Linked DNA regions of Homo sapiens: region 1 is linked to region 2. Evidence: promoter capture Hi-C in 16 types of primary human blood cells and fetal thymus (Javierre and others, 2016). All regions are on one chromosome and are shown on one strand. Each heading gives the region's core, a stretch centred on a gene start or on the middle of the fragment in contact. The rest is flanking DNA. Distances are from core to core; before and after follow the strand shown. Region 1 overlaps GALNT1 (polypeptide N-acetylgalactosaminyltransferase 1). Region 2 holds the start of INO80C (INO80 complex subunit C).

Region 1 (7,116 bases), core at 2,714-5,213, 150 kb after region 2:
CAGAAAAGGGGACTAATAGGATTCCTCGTTGGGTCACTGAAGCCAAGGAAGAGTCAGGGACTTGGTCACTGTCAGGGTGCTCTGCCACTCATCTGTATGTCTCTGCTTGGCCACATTGTTTTTGGCTGCAAGTGGCCTTCTCCATGTCGGGGGCAGTGTGACTGAGCGCAGTCCTAGAGCACAGCCTTCCAGGTCTGTGACTCAGGCCAAGGAGTCAGGTCCTGTGGTCAGCCTGGCTAGGTCATACTGTGGCCAGGCAACTGGATCTGTTACCAGAAGAAACCTTTTGAGGAGGGGAGGAGAGGTTAAGGGTCAGAATCATGAGCCCGGCAGCCACTTCTGTTTGTAATGGTTACATATGTATTAATTGTAAAGCAATATGTGTGGCATTTTGTCACACCTTTGTGTGGATATCAGGGCTGTTTTGATGTTAACGCTAAGATGTTGCCTAAGACATGGCACTGAGACATGGCCGAGGTGGGAAGAGGGGTTAGAAATGTCTGTTGAGCATATTATTACCTGTTAAAAATAAAAATACAGCATGATCAGCTCTCCTACCACTTTATAGTCACACCTGTCTCCTTCCCTTCTTCCCATAAGGACATTTAAGGCATTAAGTACTTGAGTCTAAATAGATGTTACAAACTTGGTTTAAAACATAACACATATCTGGCTGGGCACGGTGGCTCACGCCTGTAATCCCAACACTTTGGGAGGCCGAGGCAGGCAGATCACGAGGTCAGGAGATCGAGACCATCCTGGCTACCACAGTGAAACCCCATCTCTACAAATTCAAAAAATGAGCAGGGCGTGGTGGCAGGCACCTGTAGTCCCAGCTACTCGGGAGGCTGATGGCAGGCACCTGTAGTCCCAGCTACTCGGGAGGCTGAGGCAGGAGAATGGCGTGAACCGGGGAGGTGGAGCTTGCAGTGAGCCGAGATCGTGCCACTACACTCCAGCCTGGGCAACAGAGTGAGACTGACTCAAAAAAAAAAAAAGAAAAAAAAACACATATCTACTATTCTGAATGACTGGAAGGGCATTTAACCCATTGGTGTTTCATTGGGATGCAAATTTGTAGGGAGTTTGTATCTTTTGCTTTTCTGTTTGCCAGGTTCTTTGTTTTGAACATACATTACTTTACAAACAGGAAAAATATAAACTTTTAAAGGTATTGGTGGAAGTCAGTTTGTCATCTTAAAAACTGACATTCCACTCAAGACACTAAACACTGTATTCTCTAATTTGAAACATTCGAGCCAATAAATTTTATAGGAGTTTATTTACATCATGACTACCCCAAATGATAAGCTTGTTCTTCTGACCTCTAAACTTGAGATAACACCCGGGAAATAACTACAGAAAGAGAATATCCAGGTTTTAATGGAATGTGGACATCAATCTGGGCAGGAATTTTGGATTGATTATTTGCTAATTTTTTGTTAAATACTTATGTTGAATAAGAAGATTCCAAGACCTGAAAATTGGTTCTCCTTTTTCTTTGGCTATCGAATAAGGCTTCTCAGTGCTAAATTTCGATCAGTAACCACTTGACAGCTCAAAAACTGTGGCAGAAGTATTGGCCTGAACACTTTATAGGAAGCTGGGAATATAAATTGAAGCCTACGAGACTGGAGCCGTACTCACTTTGGCTACTAGGGGTAAGCCAGAATAGCTGCTACTTGGTTTTGACAATTTTGGCTTCAGTTATCTTTCTACATATTCACTTTTATATTGCTATAAGGTAGGATCCAAGTTTATTTTTTAATTATATGGAAAGCCACTTGTCCCTGCACCAATTTTCTTTGTAGTAGCATCTTTTTAGTTTTTCACACTTGTATGGATTTGTTTTGGGTTACCATATGGTTTTAAGTACGTCTGCTTTATAATTCAGTCCAGGCCAGGCGTGGTGACTCACACCAGTAATCCCAGCACTTTGGGAGGCTGAGGCGGGCGTATCACTTCAGGTGACGCGTTTGAGACCAGCCTGGTCAACATGATGAAACCTCTTCTCTACTAAAAATACAAAAATTAGCTAGGCATGGTGGCATGCACCTGTAGACCCAGCTACTTGGGAGGCTAAGGCAGGATAATTGCTTGAACCCAGGTGGCAAAGGTTGCAGTGAGCCAGGATCACACCACTGCACTCCGGCCTGGGTGACAGAGCAAGACTCTGTCTCAAAATAAATAAATAAGTAAATGAATAAATAAATAAATAAATCCATTCCCCAAAGCCTCATTTGGGTTTTGATAAGAATTATATTGAATTTATAGATTAATTTTGGGAATAACCTTGTATTCATTTTCTCATCTATTCATTAGTTAGTTATTCTTTTGTATCCTTCAATAAAGCTCCACAGTTTTCTTCACCTCTTGCACCTGTTGGGTTTTCATAGCTATTTTGAATGTTTTTTTTTTTTTTTTTTTTTTTTTTCTGGGAGATGGAGTCTCGCTCTGTTGCCCAGGCTGGAGTGCAGTGGCGCAATCTCAGCTCACTGCAAGTTCTGCCTCCCAGGTCACACCATTCTCCTGCCTCAGCCTCCTTCCCAAGTAGCTGAGACTACAGGCGCCCGCCACCATGCCCGGCTAATTTTTTGTATTTTTAGTAGAGACGGGGTTTCACCGTGTTAGCCAGGATGGTCTCGATCTCCTGACCTCCTGATCCGCCCGTGGCCTCCCAAAGTGCTGGGATTATAGGCGTGAGCTGCCGCACCTGGCCGGTTTATTTTATATATTCTAAATAGTTATAACTACCATATAGGAGCACGACTGATGTTATATGTTCATCTGTAGTCATCTGCCTTATGAAATCAATAATTAGCTCTAATGGTTTATCTTTTGATTCTTAAATAATTTCTATGTAGAAATCATACCATCTGCAGATGATAATTTTGTTTTTTTCCCCCTAATCCTTAATTCATTTTCTTATCTGTTGCTTGGACCTTCAGTACAGTGTCAGACTGAAGTGAGGATACATAACTTGCCTTATTTTAACTGAAGCTTCATCATTAAATATGATGTTTATTGTAGATTAAAGAATTCCCTTTCTAGTTCTAGTTTGCTGTTGAAGTTTTCGGTTGCTGAGTAATGAATTACCTAAAAATTTAATGGCTTTAAGCAATGAAGTTATTATCTCATATTTTCTTTGGGTCAGGAATGGAAGAGCAGTGTATTAGTTCATTTTTACACTGCTATGAAGAACTACCTGAGACTCGATAATTTATGAAGAAAAGGGGCTTAATTGACTCACAGTTCCACGGGCTTACCAGGAAGCATGACTAGGAGGCCTCAGGAAACTTACAATCATGGCAGAAGGTGAAGGGGAAGCAAGCATGTCTTACCATGGAGGAGCAGGAGAGAGAAAGAGGTGGGGGAAGTGCCACACATTTGTAAACCATCAGATCTCCTAAGAACTCACTCACTATCCCGAGAACAGCAAGGGGGAAATCTGCCCCCATGATCCTTTTACCTCCCACCAGGTCCCTTCCCCAATACTGGGGATTACCATTCAACATGAGATTTGGGTGGGGACACCGAGCCAAACTATATCAAGCATCTTAGCAGGATATTGGCTCAGGATCTTTCATGAGGTTGTACTCAAGATGTCAGCTGGAGCTGCCGTCATCTGAAGGCTTGCCTGGGGCTGCTTTCAAGGGGGTCTCACTTTCATGCCTGGCAGCATAATGTTGGTTGTAAGCAGGAGGCTTCAGTTTCTTACTATGTGGACCTCTGCATAGGAATGCTTAAGCATCCTTCTGACATGGCACTGGCCTTCCCCAGAGTGTGATCAGAGAGAGTGCTGGGGGAGGCCATAGAGTGTTTAATGACTCAGTCTTCACTTCCATCATATTCTGTTGGTTAGAAGCAAGTCACTAAGTCCAGCCCACACTCTAGGAGGAAGTTAAATGATACAAAAAGTATTTTGTGTGTTTCTTTTAGTCTGTCTGCCCTACAGAGTAGCATAAGTCAAGGGCTTCTGTCTGGATATCTTTACCTCAGGCCTCTCCTTTGAGCCCTGTGTATATCCAAGCAGCCATGGTAGCATCTCTCATTGAAGGTTCAAAGGCACCTCATACTCAACATGTCCCAAATCACACTTAACGTTTCTTCCCATCTTCTCCTCCCCTCCAAAAATTGGTCCTTTTTCACTGGTCCCCATTTCCATGATTGACACCTTTCTCTGTCCAGCTGTACAAGCTAGGATTGAGTTTGTCCCATCGTATCTCTTGTATCTTCCCACTTTTATCATCTCCAGCTTCATCTCACATCACAGTTTCCTTTTCTTTTTCTTCAGTTCACTAGCTTTTCAGTGTTGGGCTCCTTTCTGCTGTAGAGCCTTTACTATTCACTGCCTGTAATGCTTATTTTCCCTCAAACCATGTCTTTCTTAGGGAAGCCTTTTTGACAAAGTCAAATCTATTATAGATGTGTGTAGAGCTGTGTACCTTCTTTCAAAGCAGTTATCACAATTGGAATTTCACATTTATATGATTATTAACGTCTGCTTCCCTGGAGCCAACTCTGAACTTCATAAAGTCAGGGAGTGTGTGCATTTTGTTCACCCTTGTATTCCCTGCATTTGACACATTCCCTACATTTACTGTTTGGGTGACTGAATGAGTTAATAAGTGAATTAATACATTGATTATAGTTCTGTTTGAGAAATAGAGCAAATAGAATATAAAATTAATAAAATAATCTAGGCTCTTTTATTTGTATTGGAGGATAACACTTGTCTTTTTTAAGTCTTTTAGTTTTCTTGGCAGAAACTCTAGCTGTTAATTAAATAAATAGATTTGTCGAAGGTTCTCATATGTAATACCTCTGTCTGGTTAGTATGATGTAAAACTAGTGATCCTGGCTGTGGGTGGCTGGGAGACTGCTGTGTTCTCAGGAGAGAGGAGTAAAGCTAGGATCCAAGAGAATGAAGCTTTGTTTTCTCAGAAAGTTACTATCCAGCTGAGATTCTCTCAAACTTTCTGGAGAGCTTTGGTTAGAAATATGAGGGGTAGGAGAAAATCATTTGGCCGTAGAAAATACTGATTAATCTTTGGGAAAATTTGGCATGTGATATTAAGAATAGGATCAGGGTTAGGCGTGGTGGTGCGTGCCTGTAATCCCAGCAGTTTGGGAGGCCGTGGTGGGTGGATCACTTGAGACCAGGAATTCAAGACCAGCCTGGGTACAAAGTGAGAACCTGTCAAAAACAAAAAGAGAAGAAGAAGAAGAAGAAGAAGAAGGAAGGGAGGAAGTGAGGAAGGGAGGAAGTGAGGAAGGGTGGAAGGGAGGGAGGAAAGGAGGGAAGGAAAGAGGGAGGGAAGGAAGGAAGGGAGGGAGGGAGGGAGAGAGGATTGGATCAGAAGTTTACTGATATGCAAATGGGCCCTGACTTAAGATTTTTTGACTTTGTGAGAGTGTAAAACCATCACAATTTATGTGTAAGTATGGTATTCAGTAAATTGCATAAGATATTCAACACTTTATTGTAAAATAAGCTTTGTGTTAGATGATTTTGCACAACTATATGCTAATGCAAGTGTTCTGAGCACATTTAAGGTAGGCTAGGCTAAGCTATAATGTTCTGTTGGTTAGTTGTATTAAAGGCATTTTCGACTTTCGACTTAAGATGTTTTCAACTTATGATGGGTTTATTGGTACATTACCCCATCATAAGTCGAGAAGCATCTGTAATTAATCACTATACTTTGATATTAACTCTAATTTTATAACTTTAAAAATAAGTAGTTAAATGCATTTCAAATGGAAGGTTTTAACTTATGTGGTTGGGACAAAATAAGCAACTTTTAGTTACTTCCAAAATGAATTCTGGTATGTGTCTTTTGAGAAAACATAAAACAGTTTCTCTCTTTGTAAAACTGGCATTGTTTCTTTGAGGTATCCTCTCCCCCATGTTTGTTTATTTTTAAGTTGATTGAGATTGAATTTATATACAGTAAAATTCATCATTTTAGGTTCAGTTGTATAAGTTTATACAGTGGACACAGTTGTATGACCCCCAGCCCAAGAAAGTTATGGAATGTTTTCATTGCCACAGATTCATTTATGGGCAATCCCCTATTCCTTTTTCAGCCCTTGGCAGCCGCTGATCTGATTTATTGCTGGTTGCTGGGTGGTGTTTCATTGTATAAATATAGTGCAATTTGTTTATCCATTCATCAGATGATTGACATTTGGATTGTTTCCAGATATTGATGATTATAAGTAGGCTGCTATAAAGATGTGCATACAGGGCTGTGTGCAGATATGTTTTCCTTTCTCCTGAATAAATAGGAACGGGATTACAGATTCTTGTGGGGAGAAACTCCCCTGTTTTCCAGAGAGGCTGTACCATTTTGCATTCCCACTGGCACCGTATTAGAGTTCCAGTTGCTCCAATTCCTTTCCAGCACTTGTTGTTTTTCTTTTTTCTTTTAGCTGTTTTAATCAGTTCATAGTGGTGTTTCATTGTGGTTTTAATTTAATGTTGAATTTCTTTTCATGTACTCATTTGCCATCTGAAAAAAGTGTTTGGCTTTTTTGGTAAAGTGACAATTCAGACCTTCTGCCTATTTTATTGGATTGTTTGTTTTCTTACTGTGTTTTGAAAGTTTTTTATATATTCCGGATACTAGTCGTCTATCAGATATGTGACTTATAAATATTTTCTCCCAAATTTGTGACTTGCTCTTTATTTTCTTTCAAAGAAAAATTGGAAGTTTTAGCTTAATCAATAAAGGTGTATCACCTGAGTATAAACAGATATTTTCTTAATGGTGTCTTTTGAAGATTAGTTAGGAAGTCCAGTTTATTTTTTTTAATGGTTTGTGCTTTTTTGTTCTATCTAGGGAATCTTTGCCTAAGGTCTCAGGGTCTCAAAAGATTTTATTCTGTTTTATTCCAGATCTAGTTCAAAAATTTGAGTTAATATTTGTATGTGGTATAGGATATGGGCCAATATTTGTGTTTTTATTGTATATGGATATCTAATTGTTCTGGGACTGTTGAAAAAACTGTTATTTCTCCATAACAATGGACTGTATATGTGTGGATCTGTTGTAGAGAGCAGGGCTTGGCTTAGTGCTAAGGTTAGCACTCACTGGTGCACTGTTGTCACCA
Region 2 (7,165 bases), core at 376-2,875:
ACAGATGCAAAAGAATATGTTCCCTATTGTCCTGTATTATTCCATTTATATTATGTTCCAACCCAAAGTCAGTCTATTGTGAAGGGTGGCTGAACAGTGGGTAACTGTTAGGAAGGAAAGACAGTACTGACAGGAAAATGTCACCTGCTCTTAGAAATGCTATCTTGATCCAGGCAGTGGCCATAGGTGTATACAAATGTAAAAGGGCACTGGATCTGTAGTTTTGTTTTGTTTTGTTTTGTTTGCGATAGGCTCACTCTGTTGCCCAAGCTGGACTGCAATGGCACGATCATAGCTCGCTGTAACCTTGAAATCTTGGGCTTAAGTGATGCTCTTGTAGTTGGGACTAAAGGCGTGCACCATCACGCCCAGCTATTTGTAAATTTGGATGGGGGTTGGGGAGCAGGTCTCGAACTCCTGTCCTCAAGCAATCCTCTCACCTTGGCCTCTCAAAGTGCTGGGATACAGGCGTGAGACAGGATTCTTGAAGATCTGTGGTTCAGCCAGTATTCTTGAAAATTTGTGCATTGTACTCTGTGTAAATCTTACTATAGCAAAGTATTTAATATTAAAAGGTTAAAATAAAAAGCACTACCAATCACCTACAGAAGAAGGAACAAGATTTCTAGAACAGCCACTGACTGACTGGGTGAACGGTGGTGTCACACCATATGCTGAGGAGCACAAAGTAACACACTCTATCTCTGCTTTTTTGCTTTGAATAAAATGCAGGAGCCAGAGAAAACACTAATCAAGCCACTCCCTGCTGAAAATTCATTGCTGGAATTACGGAACCTAGATTGTTCAGAGGCCCTGACGTCTGAGCCAGGCGCTGAGCTCAGTGCCTTTACACTCATTACTTCATAACCTTAACAAGCCCATGAGTTAAGACCAAACCTGCCTTTGGATTGGGAAACCCAGGGTCAAAAAAGCACTTTTCTCAGGATGAGAGAAAGCATACTTATCAATACATCTTGTATTCATCCATGCAGGACATTACAGCGCTATGCGCCTCAAAGACACTGGGTAGATGTCTGCAGAATGGACGAGGGGAAGACACGCAAATTTCTGAATGACTGACACTCATTAGTCCTGAACCTCATGCTAAAGGCGACCTCGAGGGGAAGAGGCAGTCCTTCTATTAATACTAAGTCAGTAATAACCTCCCTACTTCTTCTTCTCTCCTTACAACACAAGGCGTTGTAAGCCCATGTGTCCAAACGAAGGGAAAGAGTAGTCATTCACTCCGCGGGGCAGCGTCTTTCAACCCCAACGGAGACCGCACGCGCAGCGCCCCACATTACGCACGCGCCCTGGCTCGGCTCCGCCCCGCCAAGTCCCGTTTCGCGACGCGCACGCGCAGCCTGGGAGCGCGACTGCGTACCTGCGCAAAGCTGGAAGCGGACGCTTTTTTCTTCTTACTGGCGCCATAGCCCCCGCCGCTGCTGCCATTGTGGGAAGGGCTGGCCGGCCTCTTCTTGCTGTTCCGGACTATTCCGGGAGTGGAAGTGGTGGCCACAATTGGAATTTGCGCCGCCATCGCACTCCGAGTCTTCCCCTGGTCCCCCCACCTTTTTCCCAGCGCGGGCCTTGGAACTTCCTTTCCGCTGTTACTTCCGTCTTGATGCTTGAAAACCCGGCCTGGACTCCAAGCTGTAGCTGGCTTCTCTCGGTGCAATCTAAAAGGCGGAGCTCGGAGTAGCCTGTGCCGTCGGGACGGGAAGATGTCAGCGGGCGTTGTCCTGCCACTCGGGCGCTCTGGGCGTGGGCCTTGGGTGGGGCACGTGCCTGGAAATCCCCATTGATAGAGGAATAGAAAATCTCCCAATCTTTTTAAGTAACTACGTTTTAAAAAATTAATGAGCGTGTTGTCTTTTCTCATATAGAAGAGTGATTACTTTTGATGTCTGTAAGCCTAAAGCTGGGGTCGTTCTCAGTAGACCGCCAAGCTACTGGCTTCTCCCTCTATCCCTCCCTGCCTTCCCACGCGGAAAAGGTTTGTATATAAATAGCGCCCAAATGGACATGAAGGGTAGAGTGGTTCTTAATCTCTCCCTTTTTTTTTTTCTTTTATTTGAGACGGAGTTTCGCTCTTGTTGTCCAGGCTGGAGTGCAATGGCGCGATCTCGGCTCACTGCAAACTCCGCCTCCCGGGTTCAAGCGATTCTCCTGCCTCAGCCTCCCGAGTAGCTGGGATCACAGGCATGTGCCACCATGCCCGGCTAATTTTGTATTTTTAGTAGAGACGGGGTTTCTCCATGTTGGTCAGGCTGGTCTCGAGCTCCCGACCTCAGGTGATCTGCCCGCCTCGGCCTCCCTAAGTGCTGGGATTACAGGCGTAAGCCACCACGCCCGGCCGGTTCTTAATCTCTTAGGATTCACAGACTCTTGAGCATGGAATCTGTGCTTCCTATCCCTGCCGCACACCCCCACCTCCCCACCACCCCATTAAATGTATACAGACACAGACAAAATTTTACAGATTTCAGGGAGGTCACAGATCTACTAAAACCTATTTAGGAACCTGAGTCCCCCTACCCGCCTTGTTCTTTGCCTCATTCTACCCTATATTTTTACAGAACCTTTGCGACATCATATAACTAAATGATTTATAATCGGATGGTTAATGTCTTTTTTGGCTCCTGCTAGAATGTAATCTGTATGAGGGAAGGGTCAGTTATGTCTTGTTAACTTATCAGTCCCCCCAATCACAGTACCTTGCAAGTCATTGGTGCATTATAAGTATTTTTAATGATGTATTTAACGAATGAACTAACTCCCTGCAGTGATTGGTGGAAGCTACTATGTTTGAATACAGGAAGTTGATGTATATGAGTCTTGATATTTGAAATAAACAGGCTGCACAATGACTTAGAGGTGAGAGAGAAGGAGCAGTTAGGGAAACTTGCAATATTGTTACTGACATATTTTTTCCTTTAGAGAAAGGAATAAGCCTACCAGTGTTGAAATGTTCTTTCCCACACCCCATCTCCATCCCTATCCTCATCTAAAGCTAGTCTTTTCCTCATTCCTTAACTCAAGGACTCACCTCCAACAAGCCAGTCACCTAAGCAAACTCTACTGTCCCCACCTCCTCCCATTCCTCACCTCCTCAGCTCGCTTCTCTCCTTCACGGCTCCTGCCCTGGTGAATCTGTATCCCATGTCTACATCTCAGCAACAGCCTCCAGATGGACGTTTCGGCCGCCATCTTTCCCTTATCCATTCCTGACCCCAGACCATCCTTCACACTGGCTGCCAGAATGGGATTTCTAAATTACAAATATAATCATACCACTTACTTTCTTACATTCTTCAGGGCCCTTTTGCCTTCAGGGTAAAATTTTTTTTTTACCTTCAGGGTAAGAACGTTTTGGCTTGTCATACAAGGTCCTTAATGACTGGGCTCTGGGCCGGGCGCGGTGGCTCACACCTGTAATCCCAACACTTTGAGAGGCTGAGGCGGGCAGATCACAAGGTCAGGAGATAAAGGCCATCCTGTCCAACACGGTGAAACCTCGTCTCTACTAAAAATACAAAAATTAGCTGAGTATGGTGGCATGCGCCTGTAATCCCAGCTACTCAGAAGGCTGAGGCAGGAGAATCGCTTGAACCCGGGAGATTGCAGTGAGCAGAGATCGTGCCACTGCACTCCAGCCTGGCAACAGAGCAAGACTCCGCCTCAAAACGACAACAACAACAACAACAACAACAACTGGGCTGTGCCCCATTCTGTTGCTTGGTTCCCAACACTTAATTCCTTGTGTTCCAGCCAAGGACTAACTCTATTTCCTAGAATGTATATGTTTTCTTAGCTTGTCATATTTTTGTTTCTATTATTTCCTCTCCTGGGAATGCTTAGCTCCTTGCCTGATTACCATCCATTTTGCCTCAGTTCAGATGCTACTTCCAATGAAAAGCTTTCTGCCATCTGACACACCTTCCTTCCCCTTCCCTTTCCCTGTCCTCACGCTGTGCACGTGAGCACAGGGGGACCTGCTGGGCTGCTTCCTGTCATCCCTTATTGAGTTCAAACACCAACTCCCTACTTTTAAGGAGTCAGACAAGTGGATGCACCGCCATCTGGTTTCCTGTTACTAAATTCAGGCCTGATCTTGTCTGATTCCTTTCTTTCTGAAATTCTTCCCTTGGTATCTGAAACATCACCATCTTTTTGTTTTCCTCTTTCCTGGCCAGTCTTCTGTTACCAAATGGTCTCTAATGCTACTACAGGTTTTTCAAAATATATAGTCACATGCTCCTGTAGATTCACATTTTAAAAGTTTCCCAAGTGATTCTAATGATCAGCCAGGTTTGAAACCAGACTCTTGCACAGAATCCTTACATATTGAGAGTTCCTTGGTGCTTGGTCCAAGGCCCTCTGCTCTTCTCAGTTGATACTCTCCCCAGCCATTGCACCATTTCTTGCGGATTCAGTTACCACCTAAATGCAGACCACTTTCAGATTTGCATCCTTTATCTGGCTCTTTCTCCAAAGATGCATACCCAAGGCCAGGTATGGTGGCTCATGTCTGTAATCCCAACACTTTGGGAAGCCGAGGCGAGTGGATCACTTGAGGTCAGGAGTTCAAGTCCAGCCTGGCCAACATGGGTGAAACCTCGTCTCTACTAAAAAAATACAAAAATTAGCCAAGCATGGTGGGGCCTGCCTGTAGCCCCAGCTACTTGGGAGACTGAGGCACAAGAATCACTTGAACTCGGAGGGTGGAGGTTTCAGTGAGCCTGGGCGACAGAGGAAGACTCCGTCTCAAAAAAAAAAAAAAAAAAGCATACCTGGACGTAAAATTCCTTTCCCTAGTATAAACTCAGATGCTTACACGCATCTTTCACTCCGCATGGCAAAAACAGAATTCATCATCCTCTCTGCTCCTCTAAAACAGATTCCTCCTTCAGTGTTTCCTGTCTCAGCAAATGCCACGATTAGCCACCAGTTCTTCAGACCAAAACTTGGGAGTCATCCTTGACTCCTCCCCTTCCTCCACTCCACACCATAACCGTATTCCAGCCACCATCTCTCTCTGGACTTGCAAAGTGGCCTTATGCGTTCTCTTTCTGCCTCCACCTTTGGTCCGTGCAACCCAGTTCCAACATGCGATTCCAGATGATTTCTTTAAAGATACAAATGTGCATTTTTCAGATCACACCGCCTGCTTGAAACCATTCAGTGGCTTCCTGTGGTCCCTAGAATGAAGCCCATTGTCCACGAGGTGGTTCCAAAGGTCCTTAGAGACCTGCCATCTCTCCAGCTTGCCTCTGTCCCAGGTCCCTGCACTCCTGCTCAGTTTTCACTTTTGTTAGTTCCAACAACCAGCTGTGCCCCTCCTCCCTCAGGCCTTGACACACTGCTCCTCCTGCCTGGAAGCTGCTTTTCTCCCGACCCCACCCTCCTCTGGTCTCACTAAATTCCACGCACCCTTCCTATCTTGGCTGACATGCTACATTTTCAGTGTTCCCTCTCCTCTGGTCTGGTTCCACATTCCCATCAGTCTCTCTCAGTTATTTAATCCCTGTTGATTACCTTTTTTTCTTTTTTTTTGGGAGGATCTTTCTATGTAGCCCAGTACATACATTTCTAGTAGGGAAGGAAAGATATTATATTTGTCTTCTCAGCTGGACTTAAGCTTCCTATAGGCAGTTGCCAGAGTCATCAGGGATTGAGTGGCAGAGCATCAACAGATGACAGCAACAAGGAGAGTGGGAGAAATGCTGGAGGACATTGGCTTGAGAAACCTGCCCCATGATCACCGTGGTAGTGCCAGTTACTACCAGTGTTGGCACATACCAGGATCCCATATACTTGCTGCATATGTAACTCATGGGTTTCCTTGTCCATTGGTAAAGATAAATTAATACTGATGACTCAACATTCTGCTAGCTTATGTGTTGAGACAGGGCCTAAGGCTGCCCTAAGTTCCCTCCTCAGTTATTCCTGAAAACTTGCAGGGTGTGTCTCACCCCTGCCGTAGTGTGCGCCCTCTCTTGCACTTCCTCTTCAGCTTCCTTCCTGGTACTTGCAGCTCCTGTTTCCCTCACCAATGCCACACTTCCTTTGGCAAAGGCTGCTGGGGCTTTCTCTGGGATATTGATGCCCTGACTGCGGTGTACCAGTTAAGCAGCCTCAGCCAGAGTCTTGATCCCAGTTAAGACAATGATTAAGAATGAATAATGTGCCTGCTAAGCTACTATGTATGACTTGAGACACAGAGTGCCGAATTTACTGTCTCTCAAAGATCTCAGCAAACACAGTAGATATTTGGGATCATGCTGCTATTGCATGGAAGACACACTGCTCTTCTCTTGACACCTTGTGTGAAGTGTGCTAGTCATGCTCACTGTATGAAAAATGGCTGTTCCAGTTGATATGGGACTCCTTGATGAAGGGAAGAAACCTTGAAGCTGTTGCAGTCAAGATGCTCAAAATCCCCCAACTCCCAGATACTGAAAGAGGCAGCTTAGTGTGCACTGTCTACTCTGAGCTCTGGGGACGTGCAGTTGAAAACAAACCCATTGCAGTGAGAAGCTGATGGAATCCTCAGAGACCAGTGGCAGTCCTCTCAGGAGTGTGAGAGCAGCACTCATTCCTGGAACACCATCTCTGAGGAACCTTCCTAAAGTAGCCTGTGTTTTCTCCATCACAGACCAAAGTATATCGTTTGGTAAGTGCTTGTGGGTCACAGGCTCACTTGAGCAGACACAGTTTCTTCTTTGTCGCTGTTTTCAGAGTATTGCAGTCCCTCGGTGGCAATCTGCTATGTGCCTCATTGTAAACAATCAGTATTAATAGAGAGAGCAGAAGAGAGCTCGGGCCCAGTGGATGCTGGGGACAGGCCTTTGCTCACTTCATTGCCTGCTATTTCTTGCCTGACAGCCGCATGGAAATATTTAAAAGCTGGAAAGAGTAATTGAAAATAGGCCTGACTGTGACATTTCCAGGGTTCAGGGCAAGAGTACAAATGGAGGCCTACCTACCATATGCCTTGATATTTAAGTGTACAAAGCAAGCTAATAACATGTAAAATAAAATATGTTCTACCCTTCTATCTTGGCAAATGTATCTTTATAACCCAGAAGGCCAGAGTTGAATTTAGAATGCTCAGATTTCTTGGAGTTCTGCTCAGAATGTGGTAGGGTGGGAAGAGCTGTTC

What was found. The method cuts DNA at HindIII sites, captures the fragments that hold promoters and counts their contacts. A CHiCAGO score of 5 or more calls a contact.
Region 1: a contact is called between a fragment that was not itself captured here and the fragment with the promoter of INO80C in region 2, in 1 of 17 cell types (M1 macrophages). The highest score is 5.3, in M1 macrophages.

Annotation. Positions count from the first base shown.
Region 1 is chr18:35,642,811-35,649,926 of GRCh38, forward strand. All of the region lies in intron 1 of GALNT1 (polypeptide N-acetylgalactosaminyltransferase 1), which reads left to right. Among named protein-coding and RNA genes, the nearest start is that of MIR3975, 55 kb to the left of the region's middle. The HindIII fragment of the contact is 1,930 bases long and covers 2,999-4,928 here.
Region 2 is chr18:35,496,335-35,503,499 of GRCh38, forward strand. INO80C (INO80 complex subunit C) reads right to left here and starts at 1,626. Exons shown (of 5, transcript NM_194281.4): 1 at 1,385-1,626. The coding sequence starts at 1,540. RefSeq lists enhancers at 644-793, 1,064-1,183, 1,534-1,803. The HindIII fragment of the contact is 4,638 bases long and covers 1-3,917 here.